Regions from separate parts of the Homo sapiens genome. Here regions 1 and 2 are each linked to region 3. Evidence: promoter capture Hi-C in 16 types of primary human blood cells and fetal thymus (Javierre and others, 2016). All regions are on one chromosome and are shown on one strand. The core of a region is centred on a gene start or on the middle of the fragment in contact, and the rest is flanking DNA. Distances in the headings are between cores, read along the strand shown.

Region 1 (4,443 bases), core at 1,502-4,001, 900 kb before region 3:
AAACAAAAAAGAACAACCGCAACAACAACCAAAGTTTTACACCTATTTTAAAAATTAACTCCCATTTTGTAGGTTGCCTGTTCACTCTGATGGTAGTTTCTTTTGCTGTGCAGAAGCTCTTTAGTTTAACTAGATCCCATTTGTCAATTTTGTGGGGGGGGGGAGGGATAGCATTAGGAGATATACCTAATGCTAAATGACGAGTTAATGGGTGCAGCACACCAGCATGGCACATGTATACATATGTAACTAACCTGCACATTGTGCACATGTACCCTAAAACTTAAAGTATAATAATAATAAATAAAAAATTAACTCAAAATGTATCATAGACTTAAATGTAAAATAAAAAATCTTTAAAAAAATAGGCAGTAGAATGTCTTCAGGATCTAGGGCTGGGCAAAGAGTTATTAAACCAAAAGCATCAATAAAAGGAAAAGTGGATAAATTGGACCTTATCACAATGACAAACTTTTGCTCTGCAAAAGATACGGTTAAGAGGATGAAAATACAAGCCATACACTGTGAGAAACTGTTTACAAAGCACATATTTGACAAAGGGCTAATATCTAGAATATATAAAGATATCTCAAAACTCAACAGTACGAAAAACAATTAATTAGAAAATGGGCAAAAGACATGAACAGACATTTCACTGAAGGGAATATACACATGGAAGATAAGCACATGAAAAGATGTCTTACATCATTAGTCAATAGGGAAATACAAATTAAAATCACAATAAGACACCACCACACACCTATTAGAATGGCTAAAATAAAAGCTAATGCTCATGAGGATGCAGACAAACTTGATCATTCATACACTGGTGGTGGGTATGTAAAATGGTACAGCCGCTCTGGAAAGCATTTTGGCAGTTTCTTAAAAAACGAAACATGTAACTACCATGCAACCCAGCAACTGCACTCCTGGGCATTTATTCCGGAGAGATGAAAACTTAGTTCACACAAAAACCTGTACACAAATGTTTACAGTACCTTTACTCAGAATATCTGAAAACTGGAAACAACCCAGGTGTTCTTCAGTGAGTGAATGGCTAAACAAACTGTGGTACATTCATACTATGGACTACTACTCATCAATAAAAAGAAACGCGCTATTGATACATGCAACAACTTGGATGAGTCTCCAGATAATTATGCTGAGTGAAAAAAAAATTCTAAAAGGTTGCACTCTGTATGATTCCATCTATACAACACAGACGTTTGCCAGGAATTAAGAAGCAGTGTAACTACAAAGAGCAACATGAGGGATCCTTGTGGTGATGAAAATGTTCTGCATCTTGACTTTATCAATGTCAGTATCCTGGTTGTGATATTGTACTACAGTTTTGCAAGGTGTTTCCATTGGGGGAAGCTGGGTAAAGGGTACATATAATCTGTCCATATTATTCCTTACAACTGCATATGAGTGTCCAATTTTCTCAAATAAAACATTTAATTAAAATAGTACATATGTGATTTCTCTTGTCCAAACCCTGATTGATAATTTGAACCCTTCATCAGACTGGAAAATTTCTCTTCTATTCCTAGATTGCTAAGTATTTTGGTCAGAAGAGGTGTTTATTTTTGCCAATAGATTTATCTGTATTTTTTAACATAATCATAGCTTTTCTTTAAAAAAAATTTTTATTATTTCTTCCAATGAAGGCTTTTCTCTTTTAAGGTAAATTACATTGTTTGATTTCAGAATGCAAAACCAACCTTGCATTCCCGGGATAAACCCTACTTCATCATGATGTATTAATCCTTTTATAAATTGCTGGATTTGATTTGCTAATATTTGCTTAGGATCTTTATGTCTATGTTTATGAAATGTTTTTCAGACACCTATGGTGTCTGAAAAGTCCTCAGTAAAAATTCATTGAATTCAGACTTGTTTAAATGATACTCTAACTGCAACATAGCTGATGTTGTGGTCCAGACACCCCCTCAGGGCCTAGACAGTCATTCCCTCAGCTTCTGGAGTTGGTTACTGATGATACACAACTGAGTCCTTCTCTGGGGGCCGCCCTCCACCGAGGGAAGCAGTCTTGCCAAAAAAAAAAAAAAAAAAAAAATCACAGCTCCTCCCCAGGTGTAGCCTGTATCCATGACTGGTCAATGCAAGGATAAGAGTTTCTGGCCCCCTTGCTTTAATGTGGAACTACTCTGAAGGGTCATCCTAGGCTCCAAGCATGCCTTGGGATTGGTCAAGGCCTCTGCTGCAACTGTTTTGCAGGCCAACTTCTTCCTCTGCCTACAAATTCCTGCTTCCTTCACTTTCTTACAGGTGCTGATCTTTAAGTTCTCCCTACCTCCACCAATAACCTTGTAGGCAAGCTAATCTCCCTCTTGCGTCCCCCAGGGGCTCAACACAGGACACACCACGTTACCCTGTTTTATTTTTCTTTTCATAGCATTTAACACCTTATACGTGAAATAACCTTATTTACTTAACACTTAAAATACTTATCGTCTGCTGTAAGAATGTAAGCTTACCAGGACAGATCTTTCTCATACGCTATGCACCGCTGTATCAAGCGCCTATGGCAGGGCCTGCAGAACACAGCAGGCACTAAATACTGGTTGTTGAATGAACCGATGAGTCTGGCCCCGCGCTTTTGGTCCTGGGATCACATATCCCCCCTCCAGCTTTTAACACGCACCTGGGAGCTGCGGCTCGGGGTGTGCCCCCGAGTCCCCGCCCCTCAGGCCACGCCCCCAGGCCCACGGAGAGGGCGGGGCCCCGCGGACGCAACGGTGGGCACGATGCGGCAACCCGCCGTTCGGTTGGTGCGCCTGGGTCGGGTGCCGTACGCCGAGCTACTGGGGCTGCAGGACCGCTGGCTGCGGCGGCTGCAGGCCGAGCCAGGCATTGAGGCCCCGTCGGGGACTGAGGCGGGCGCGCTCCTGCTCTGCGAGCCCGCGGGGCCCGTGTATACGGCCGGGCTGCGCGGCGGCCTGACGCCCGAGGAAACTGCGCGGCTACGGGCCTTGGGCGCCGAGGTGCGCGTCACAGGCCGCGGTGGCCTGGCCACCTTCCACGGCCCGGGCCAGCTGCTTTGCCACCCGGTACTCGACCTGCGGCGTCTCGGCCTGCGCTTGCGCATGCACGTAGCGTCGCTGGAGGCGTGCGCCGTGCGCCTGTGCGAGCTCCAGGGCCTGCAGGACGCCCGCGCGCGGCCCCCGCCCTACACTGGCGTCTGGCTAGACGATCGCAAGATCTGCGCGATCGGTGAGCGCCGCGGAGCAGGGCGGTACCTGAGAGCCGAGGTCGGAGCTTGAGGCCTGGGGGCGGGGTCTGACGGGGCTGGACCAACGGAGGTGAGGGCCGGGAGGAGGCGTATCTAGCGCGGGTTTTGAATCACAGCTACCCGCTGCGTTTGAGTTTTTAAGCCCCTTTTCAGATATCGTATATTCAGAAGCAGAAGGCTCCTCACATCTAGTCCAACACGCATTTCTGTTAAGGGAGAGACAAGAGAAGTGAATTGCCAGGTTACGTCCTGCGAATGACAATGTCATGGCAAATAAGGGTGCTAATTTTCAAACTTTTTTTTTTTTTTTTTTTTGAGACAGAGTCTCGCTTTGTCACCCAGGCTGGAGTGCAGTGGCGCAATCTCGGCCCACTGCAAGCTCCGCCTCCCGGGTTCACGCCATTCTCCTGCCTCAGCCTCCAGAGTAGCTGGGGCTACAGGCGCCCACCACCAGCCCGGCTAATTTTTTGTATTTTTAGTAGAGATGGGGTTTCACCGTGTTAGCCAGGATGGTCACGATCTCCTGACCTCGTGATCCGCCCGCCTCGGCCTCCCAAAATGCTGGGATTACAGGCGTGAGCCACTGCGCCTGTCCCCAAGCTTTTTTTTTTTTAAGTATTGGAATCTGTTAAAAGACATTTCCTGGAATCCTCATGATGAGTGCAGCTGCTTGAAGCCACGCACCCCTTCCTTTCATTTGTTTCCTTTTCCCATCTGAGTACAATCCCTTGTTTCTCCAGAAACAAAATTTGAAAACCGGTGATCTAATCCAGTTTTCTCATCGCCCTGAGAGGGACACCAAAGCCCGGAGAGTGGAGGGTATCTACTCTAAGACCCTTTGGCTTGCCTTGCAGGAGTCCGCTGTGGAAGGCACATCACATCCCACGGCCTGGCTCTCAACTGCTCTACCGACCTCACGTGGTTTGAGCACATCGTGCCCTGTGGACTGGTTGGGACAGGCGTCACTTCCTTGAGTAAGGAGCTCCAGAGGCACGTCACCGTGGAAGAAGTAATGCCACCTTTCCTTGTGGCCTTTAAGGAGATCTACAAGTGCACACTGATCTCAGAGGACAGCCCCAACTGAAGAGTACTCATAACAGCCAGGATGCTCCTGCCTTGGGAAGCATGAAGTCTGACTTGAGTCACCTACTGAAACCCAGATTTTAGACCTGGCCTGTCATTCACTG
Region 2 (4,572 bases), core at 2,001-4,500, 580 kb before region 3:
GTAATATTAGATTGAATATAACTTAGGTCAATACTTGGAATCTGAAATATATTTCCTTCAAAAGGGATTCATACAAATTGAAAGATACCATATTTCTTCAAGGAACATTCAACATCATAAAAACGTTTATTCTAAATTAATGTTTGTATTTAATGTAATCCCAATAAAAATACTATCAGGATTTTTTTCTGGCACTAGTCTATGGGATTAGAAAGTTTATTTGTGAGAAAAAAACAAGAGGAACCACGAAAATCCTCAAAATGAATGAGGGGTAAACAACCTCTACCACCCATCAAAACATATTAATAAATCCTCTAATTAAAAGTACAGTAGTGGCACGTAAAAGAAACTCCACAGACCCGGATTTATATAGAAATTTGGCATATGACAAAGGTGTCATTTTAATCAGTGAGAAAGAAGACTTTTTTTTTTTTTTTTGAGACAAAGTCTCACTCTGTGTCCCAGGCTAGAGTGCAGGGGCATTATCTTGGCTCACTGCAACCTTTGCTTCCCGGACTCAAATGATCCTCCAGAGTAGCTGGGACTACAGGCACACACCACCACACCCAGCTAAATTTTTGTGATTTTTGTAGAGAAGAGGTTTCACCATGTTGTCCAGGCTGGTCTCCAACTCCCAAGCTCAAGTGGTCCACATGCCTTGGCCTCCCAAAGTGCTGGGATTACAGGCATGGACCACTGAGCCTGGCCAGGACTATTTCTTTATTGTAGTGAAATTTACGTAATGGGTAAAGGACTAAAAAATTTAATAAATGATGAAAACAACTAGATAGCCTTTGGATAAAAATAAAATGTCTTCTTTTCCTCACTTTGCATATCAAGATAAACTTCAAATGGATTAAAAAAAAATTGGCTCATGCCTGTAATCCCAGCACTTTGGAAGGCTGAGGTGGGTGGATTACCTGGGGCCAGGAGTTCAAGAGCAGCCTGGCCAACATAATGAAACCCCGTCTCTACTAAAAATACAAAAATTAGCTGGGTGTGGTGGTGCATGCCTGTAATCCCAGCTACTTGGGAGGCTGAAGCAGGAGAATCGCCTGAACCCGGGAAGTGGAGGTTGTAGTGGGCCAAGATCACACCACTGCACTCCATCCGGCCTCGGTGACAGAGCAAGACTCTGTCTCAAAAAAAAAAAAAAAAAAAAAAAGGACACTACACAGGTACCAGGAAAAAATATAAATGATTCCTTTATAACCCAAAAAAAGGAAAAGCCTTTCTGTGACTCAAGATCCAGAAGCAATACATGCTGGGAGGAAGGGAAGATGCTAATGAGTAACGAGTTTATGGGAGGATGAAAATGTTCTGCAATTAGTGGTGGTAATTGTACAACTGAGTGAATATACCAAAAATCACTGAATTGTACATTTAAAAGAGTGAATTCTATGGCATATAAATTTAACTTTTTAAAAATCTAATGAAAAAATAAAAAAAAAAACAGAAATACTGGGATTTGATTATTTTAGTAACTCAATTTGTGACCTTGAGCAAATCACTTCACTTTGCCCTTTATTTCCCCATCTGTGTGAATAGCTCATTAAAGCCTTCCTAAGAGGCCTGATATCCATAATAAATTTAAGAAGATGGATGAAAGACTATCTAATCAGATATGAATAAACATACAGCTTGTGGGGACAAAAAAGCTGATAACATAAGAAACTGAAAGGAGAGCTTCCACATAAACTATGAACCTTCTTCACAGTTCTCAATGTATAATTATCTACTAGCTATCATTCTTTAAGAGCTTATGTGTCAGTGTCAGGAACTATAAGTGCTTTTTATGTATTATCTTATTCTCACAGCACTCTCAGGTAAGCAGAAGTATTCTCATTTTAGAGATAAGAAAATAGACTATGAGAAGTTAAATGACTCGACCAATGTAAATACCTAAGTTGGGCTTCAAACTTAGATCTTTGTCACTTCAAATATCAAACCCTTCAATGCAAGCTATAGAAAGAACAATGGACTAAAAATACGAAGTCCTGGGTTTGAATGTTGTTCCTGCCACATAATGATTCTGTGATCTTAGGCAAGTCAATGAACATTTCAGTTTTCTCATTTATTAAAAGAAAATATTAACTCCTGCCCTAGTTTACCTCATAGAATATAAAAAGGGACTACTATATACATGTCAGTTAAATCACTACAGAGCTGGGCATGCTAGCATGTATCCTCAGTCCTACCTACTCAAGAGGATGAAGTGGGAAGACTGCTTGAGCCCACGAGTTTGAGGTTGTAATGCACCAAGATTATGCCTGTGAAAAGCCACTGTACTTCAGCCTGGGCAACACAGCAAGACTCTATCTCTTGCAAAAGAAAAAAAAAGGAATTTAAGAGATAATAATAGAAAAGTAGAACTTTTTTTTTTTTGAGATGGAGTTTCGCTCTTGTTGCCCTGGCTGGAGTGCAATGGCGCGATCTCGGCTCACCACAACCTCCGCCTCCCAGGTTCAAGTGATTCTCCTGCCTCAGCCTCCTGAGTAGCTGGGATTACAGGCATGTGCCACCACGCCAGCTAATTTTGTATTTTTAGGAGAGACGGTGTTTTTCTATGTTGGTCAGGCTGGTCTTGAACTCCCGACCTCAGGTGATCCACCCGCCTCGGCCTCCCAAAGTGCTGAGATTACAGGCATGAGCCACCACACCTGGCCAAAAAGTACAACTACTGATAAACCAAAAACACGTTGAATAATGAATGGCTTTAATATTTTATAGTTCCTCTAATAGTAATAGTATATACGAAAGCAGTGACTTTCAAAAGATACTTCTCTCAAGCACACCAGGGGTGCAAAGCAAATAGGGATCTCAAATCTACTTTAGTCAGAGTAGCTCTAAAAGCTTTAATAAAGAAGTTCAAAACCACTGTTTTTGGCAACATCCATTGGCATCTATTAAAAGGAAGAGTGACACCAGGATTTCAGGCCTTACCCAAGAGAAAATATTAGTGTACTGAAAAGTGAATGGATTCTAGAGACTAAACTTAGATTGAATCCTAGCTCTGCTACCTACTAGTTGGGTTACTTTTAATCTCTGGGTCTGAATGTCTTTACCCACAATGCAGGAAAATATTCACCATGCAGGTCTGTGGACACATTAAATAACATAAAGTTACCATTACAATGTCTGGCACACAGTACTTACTTTAAAAATTGCTATTATTAAATTATCCAACAATACTTTGGAATTACTAAATCTAATCTGAAAAACTGAATTATGGAAACTCATGAAAAATCACCAACTCAGAATATGCACCCTGAATATGCAAACATGCCTAAATAATGTTTAGTGAAATTGAAGGCAAGAGATCATGAAAAATAGTTAAGAGTAAGCCACACAAGAGACTATCAAGAGAACAGGACTAACTTGTGAGTAACATAGATAGAGTGGAAGAATGGAAGTTAAGAAAAAAGCAAGTAAGCATAAGGAGACATAAAGAATGCTTTGAAATTGGTGTGAGACTTCATAAATTACGACTGAAGAAAAAGACTGAATCCTAGATTATATGCAAATGAGTAAGATACACAACTCAAAATAAGTATCCCCAGATGACAATTATGACTCCAAAATACACAATGGGTCTCACAGTCAAGAGACCCAAGTCCTAGTCCTTAACGGCCCTACCGCTAAGCTTCTAGGGTACCTTAGGAATATCTGAGTCTCAGTTCCCTCATTTATTAATACATTCCCTTATAGAATACAGAACTCTCTGAATATTGGGTTCCTCAACTACATGAAGTGGTGAAATGAGACCATGTCTATGCTTTCTCTCAGCTTTATGATTCTAAGGAGAAAGAGAATCTATATTATTACTACCATGAGACTTAGATGAAGCCTGCTTATATACCAATAAAGTAGAAAAGAAAGATACGGGAAAATAAGCCATTTGAGGACCACACAAATATTCGCCAATATATGCTCTTCTCTTCACAATACTATCATAAAGAAAGGCCTTTCTAAAGAACTTTCTTTTCCAGGATAAGCAGTTAACCTAAACCAAGAAGACCAAAGCATCTTTTTAAAAAGGTAAGTTGTCCAGGCACAGTAGCTCACTCCTATAATCCCAGTACTTTGGGAAGCCAAGTGGGGCAGATCACTTAAGGCCAGGAGTTTAAGACCAGCCTGGCCAACATGGCGAAATCCCCTCTCTACTAAAAATACAAAAATTAGCCGGGCGTGGTGGTGCATGCCTGTAATCCCAGCTACTTGGGAGGCTGAGGCACAAGAATCACTTGAGCCCGGGAGGTGGAAGTTGCAGTGAGCCGAGATTGTGCCACTGCACTCTAGCCTGGGCAACAGAGTGAGACTCTGTCTCTAAAAAAAAATAAAATGAAAAGTAATAAAAAATAAAAACGATAAATTACTAACAATTATACAATCTTCTAATCAGCAGATTTTCCTTTTTTTTTCTCTCAGTATCTTCATTCAGTTCTTCAATCTTCAGAGAACTTGTTTCTCCAAGATGAGAAGCTGAGCTCTAATTAAGCTTATCTAAGGAATGTATAATTATTAAAAATCTGATTTTCTTATGTATTTGTATAGAAGGGTGCTGGTATACTG
Region 3 (4,809 bases), core at 1,085-3,584:
GAGGCAGGCGGATTACCTGAGGTCAGGAGTTCAAGACCAGCCTGGCCAACATGGTGAAACCCCATCTCTACTAAAAATACAAAAAAAAATTAGCCAGGCATGGTGGCACATGCCTGTAATCCCAGCTACTCGGAAGGATGAGGCAGGAGAATTGCTTGAGCCCGGGAGACGGAGGTTGCAGTGAGCCGAGATTGCACCACTGTACTCCAGCCTGGCTGACAGAGCAAGACTCTGTCTCAAACAAACAAACAAACAAACAAACAAACAAAAAAGAATTCAGATATAAGGAAAACCAGTGTGTCTAAAATATGTTCTAGGGAAGGTAGGACTTTGGCTTGAGTTTGAAGAATGAGTAAGAGAAAAGGAGAAAATGGGTGTGGAAAGACCAGAAATGGAAAAATTTTGAGAAGACGCATTGAAAATTGAGAAAATTCTCCCTTCCAACTTTATGAATTGGAAGTGACTACTATTATTTGTTTTAATAGTGGAACTATTAAAACCAGGCAGGCACAGTGCTGAAGCATGAATGAGACAATGGGAAGCCATGGAAAGCATCTAGGCAGCAAAGAAAGGTTGTTAGATTTGGAAATTATGTTTTTTGGAAGTAGCACAGCTTAAAAAATTGTCCAGGTGTAGTGTGGCTCACACCTGTAATCCCAGCACTTTTGAGAGCTGAGGCAGGAGGGTCTCTTGAGGCCAGGAGTTTGAAACCAGCCTGGGCAATATAGTGAGACGACGTCTCTTACAATTAAAACAAAACAAAAAAGAAAACAAAAAACAGTCGTTATGTGCTCCTTTTAAACAATTCAAACAATATGAAAACAAAAATTACAGTCGGGCATTGTGGCTCATGCCTGTAATCCCAGCACTTTGGGAGGCTGAGGCGGGCAGGTCAGGAGGTCAAGAAATCGAGACCATCCTGGCCAATATAGTGAAACCCCATCTCTACTAAAAATACAAAAATTAGCTGGATGTGGTGGCGCGCGCCTGTAGTCCCAGCTACTCAGGAGGCTGAGGCAGGAGAATCGCTTGAACCCGGGAGGCAGAGGTTGCAGTGACCTGCGATCGCCCCCACTTTACTCCAGCCTGGCTATAGATCCAGACTCCGTCTCAAAAAACAAAAAAAACCTACGTGCAATCTGACACCCTTTCCCCCAAGATAATCATTGCTAATATTTTGGCGAACCTCTTTCCTGAAATCTCTCCATGCTTGTAGAATATTGTGTCAAACCTCACATAAATGCACTCGTGTAGACATGCTGTTGTGTAATCAACTTTTTCCCCGAAGAATAAATTGTGAATAGCTTTTCATGTCAATAGATTTATATCATTTTAAATGGCTCCTTAGTATTGCATTGTATGTATATGTCACGTCTTATTTAAGCAGCACCCTATCGATGAACATTTACTCCCTTCATAATTAACTACGTCATATAACAACTTTGTGCATTCATCTTTTCGAAATTGTTCGATCATCTTTTTAAGGTAAATTCTTAAAAGTAATGGAGCTGGGTCAAGAAGAGGATATGCCCTTTGTCGTTTGGATTCAAGTTGCCGAATCGTCCTCAAATTTGCAGGGAGACCAGCGAGGAAGCTCCGGCATTAGTTCTGGTGAGAGACAGCTGAAACGGAGATGGCGAGGGATGAACAGAATCACAGGTGATCTAGCCCATCAAGGCCCATCCTCGGTGGGCTGGCGTATTCCTTCCCTTTTGCCTCTCTTTCACTTCTTTTTCTTAACATGGAGGAAGAACCGAGAACTCCATCTCCCAGCATTTCGCAGGGACCACACTCCCTGGGAACTGTAGTACCGGGTCTGAGAAGGGTCCGGAAGGAGAATAGGAAGCTGAGGGGCATGCTGGGAGGTGTAGTCCAGAGACAGAGACGAGAGGGAGAGGGAGAGAGGGAGAGAGGGAGAGAGGGAGAGACAGAGAGTGTGTGTGTGTGTGTGGGCGGGGGGAGGGGGGTGTCTATGCAAAGAGGATGGAGACGCTGCGAGTACGGCCCCTTGGGGATGGGGCCTCGGGCGACCTGACTTTCCTCACAGGTGGTCTTTGAGTCTACAAAATTCGCCAGCGGATGGTTGGCTTTATTCCACTGTCCGTGACCGGAGAGGGCGCGGCCCCTCTGCACCGGGCTCGCGGCGGGAGGCGCAGGCCGCGCGCGGGCTAAAGCAGGGCATGCCGGGAGTTGTGGTCCCGGCGCTCTGAGGCTGTGGGACGTGTCGCGGCGCCGCGCCGGCTCCTCCTTCCCTGCCCTTCTGAGCGGTCCCCCGCCTCCTCCCTCCGCCTCCTCCTCCCTCGCCCGCAGCCGAGCGTCCCCTCCCCCCACCCGTCGGGCTCCTCGGCGGCTACTGCAGAGGATTCAGAGCCGAGTCGCTGAGGAGGAGGCTCCGGTCCCCGCGCGCCATCCGCCACCCTACTGGACACGGGCGAGAGCGTCGCCGCCGTAGCCTCCGGAGAAGACAAGGGCATCGCCGCCTCAGCCGCCGCCGCCGCCGTTTTCGCCTGCAGCTGCTCACCGGTGAGGAGACTCCCCCCGCCACAGGGTCCGCTGGTCCTGAGTCTGGGCCGGTGGCGCTGGCGAGAATGAGAGGGGAGGCTGCGGAGCCCCCGTGCAGGTTGGGGGGAGGGGGTTGAGGTCGCGATGGAACGGCGGGCTGGCGGGGGAGACTTGTCCAGGCGCTGGCCGGGGGTGGGGTGAGGGTGGGACCCAAGCAGGTTGGGGGGCGGGCGACAAGGGAGGAGGACTTTTGATGGAGAATAACCCAACCTGGGACAGGAGAGTGGGGTGGGGGCGTCGGGTTGGAATTCGGGATGGTCTTGGGGCGAGGTGGAAGATGAGACTAGGGTGGGATGGCTTTTAATGGGGGAGGGGACTGAATGAGGGTGGTGATTTGGGTTTGGCCTGGAGCAGTTGACAGCTTGGGATCTGAGCTGGGGTGAGGGGCAGGGGAATGATTTCAACGGAGAGTGAGTGGCATGTACAGGGTTGGTTAGGGCCCTGCGTAGTGTTAATTCAGAAGGGTGGAATTTGGGGTGGACCTGGGGCAGGATGATGGAGGTGGCAGGAGTTGGGGGTGAGGGGCTTGGCATGGGTTGAGACCCAAGCTTGAAGTGGGTGTTTGTCATCTGGGGCTGGTGGAATTTGTGGAGACTTATGGAATAGCATGGGTTAGGATAGAGCAGAAGAGTGCAATTTGGGGGTTTCCTGGGGTGGGCTGATGGAGGTTGGAATAGGAGTTGGTGGAGGTGGGACATTCAGTGAGGGGAGTGTGATGGTGAGCTGGCAGGAAGGGGCCACATTGGAAGTCAGGCCCGAAATGGGAGGACAGGGATGGAAATGGAGTGTGGGGCACAGTGGGTTGGATTTAGGGTGATCTTACAATCACTGGAAAGGGCATGGTGGCTCCTTGGTTGCAGAGTCAAGGCAGAGGGCACATAAAACATCACTGGGCTGCTTTCATTGAAAGGATAGCGGCAGGGGTGAGCAAAGTTGGGGGATGGTATCTTGAAGAAAATATCCCTTGGCCAAGGTGGCAGAGGGAGTTTTGGAGAAGGACTTTCGGAGATGAGCTGGTAGGCCTGGGGAGGTGGTTGCTGATGGTGAGGTGGCACAGGGGAAATTTAAGGAATGGGAGACCTGGAGCTGTTGGTATGGATGGGGCAGAGAGGATGGAGAGGGACAGTGAGCTGTGCTGGAGAGCAGGGGGGAATTGGGTTGGATTATTTTGGTGGTGAAGGATTGGGGTGGCCTCCAAGAGACACATGAGGGTTAAGGGTTGGAATACTTAAATGAACAGCCTTGGTGGCTGTGGTTGGGTGAGAGGCAGTAAGGCTGTTAGAGGGGACTTTGCAGGGGACACGGAAGAGACCTTCTCATTCTTAGGGGCCATTTTAATCTGTTCGGGTGATGTTTTTGTTTGTTTTATTTATATTAGTAAAATTTGGAAGTCAAGTCAGCCCAAAGGGTAAAGTTGAAAGGGGATTTAGTTAAGGTAGAATTAAGGAGGGGAGGGTGTCTTCTGTTATTTGTATATCATAAAAAGTAAGTTGGGGGAAAAAAGCATACTTCCAAACTAAAGGTGGGAGAAGATAAACTGGAATGTAATGGATATCTTTCTATATGATGTCTCTGCCTTTTCTTTTCCCCTCTCCTCCTGGTGTATTTAAAAACTAGCCAGGCATTTTGAAATTTAAATAGATTTGATGAGCTTGAGATTGTTAAGGGTGCATTCCTTGCTTGAGAACTAATGAGTGAGCCTGAAAAATATGAGACTGAATTTATTTTGTAGGTAGGTAACAAGCACATAGGCAAAAAGAGCTTGGGCCTTTTTTACCCCCTCTTTAAATTGATTGCTTGAAGACGCCATTTGTTAGTGTCCTGGTTTGCAAGGCAATTAGGCCCATCATTGTATTGCAGGCTAATAATCCTGAGATGAGTCTTGGCACCACCGCTTTATGTAAACAGAGAAGACAGGAAATATGGAAATGTCATAAATATTCATTGGTGAGATGGTTTGGTACTGATGGAGTTTTTCATATGATTGTCTTTTGACATTGATAAGATTTAGAATAATTGGACTGTATTTCTAAAGATTGAATTTTCTTCCAAAGGAATTCAGGTGATCAGAATTCTGTCAGATGTGAATAAATAAAGCATATTGAGTCATTTTTATTTTATTTTTTGGGGAATGATGTTGATGTAGTCGCATTGTATTAACTACAGAAACAGCATCTCCACCTATTCATCAGAAATTCGATTTAAACCTTAGCGATATGCTCATTCTTAGGGCAGAACGATGATAAT

Evidence for each region. Contacts are between HindIII fragments. The CHiCAGO score rates a contact against its expected background, and 5 or more counts as called.
Region 1: a contact is called between the fragment with the promoter of LIPT2 here and the fragment with the promoter of FAM168A in region 3, in 1 of 17 cell types (naive CD8 T cells). The highest score is 6.4, in naive CD8 T cells.
Region 2: a fragment that was not itself captured here is called in contact with the fragment with the promoter of FAM168A in region 3 in 1 of 17 cell types (non-activated CD4 T cells); the score reaches 5.1 in non-activated CD4 T cells.

The regions. Positions count from the first base shown.
Region 1 is chr11:74,492,032-74,496,474 of GRCh38, reverse strand. LIPT2 (lipoyl(octanoyl) transferase 2) reads left to right here and starts at 2,751. Exons shown (of 2, transcript NM_001144869.3): 1 at 2,751-3,237; 2 at 4,111-4,443. The coding sequence starts at 2,772. The coding sequence ends at 4,340. It overlaps LIPT2-AS1 (LIPT2 antisense RNA 1), which reads right to left and starts at 3,095. Exons shown (of 2, transcript NR_171028.1): 1 at 2,502-3,095. RefSeq lists silencers at 2,516-2,765, 2,876-2,985. The HindIII fragment of the contact is 1,360 bases long and covers 2,499-3,858 here.
Region 2 is chr11:74,173,315-74,177,886 of GRCh38, reverse strand. All of the region lies in intron 1 of PPME1 (protein phosphatase methylesterase 1), which reads right to left. Among named protein-coding and RNA genes, the nearest start is that of PPME1, 4.3 kb to the right of the region's middle. The HindIII fragment of the contact is 790 bases long and covers 2,856-3,645 here.
Region 3 is chr11:73,595,637-73,600,445 of GRCh38, reverse strand. It overlaps FAM168A (family with sequence similarity 168 member A), which reads left to right and starts at 2,334. Exons shown (of 8, transcript NM_015159.3): 1 at 2,334-2,523. RefSeq lists silencers at 1,891-2,120, 2,251-2,380 and an enhancer at 2,272-3,000. The HindIII fragment of the contact is 4,267 bases long and covers 1-3,112 here.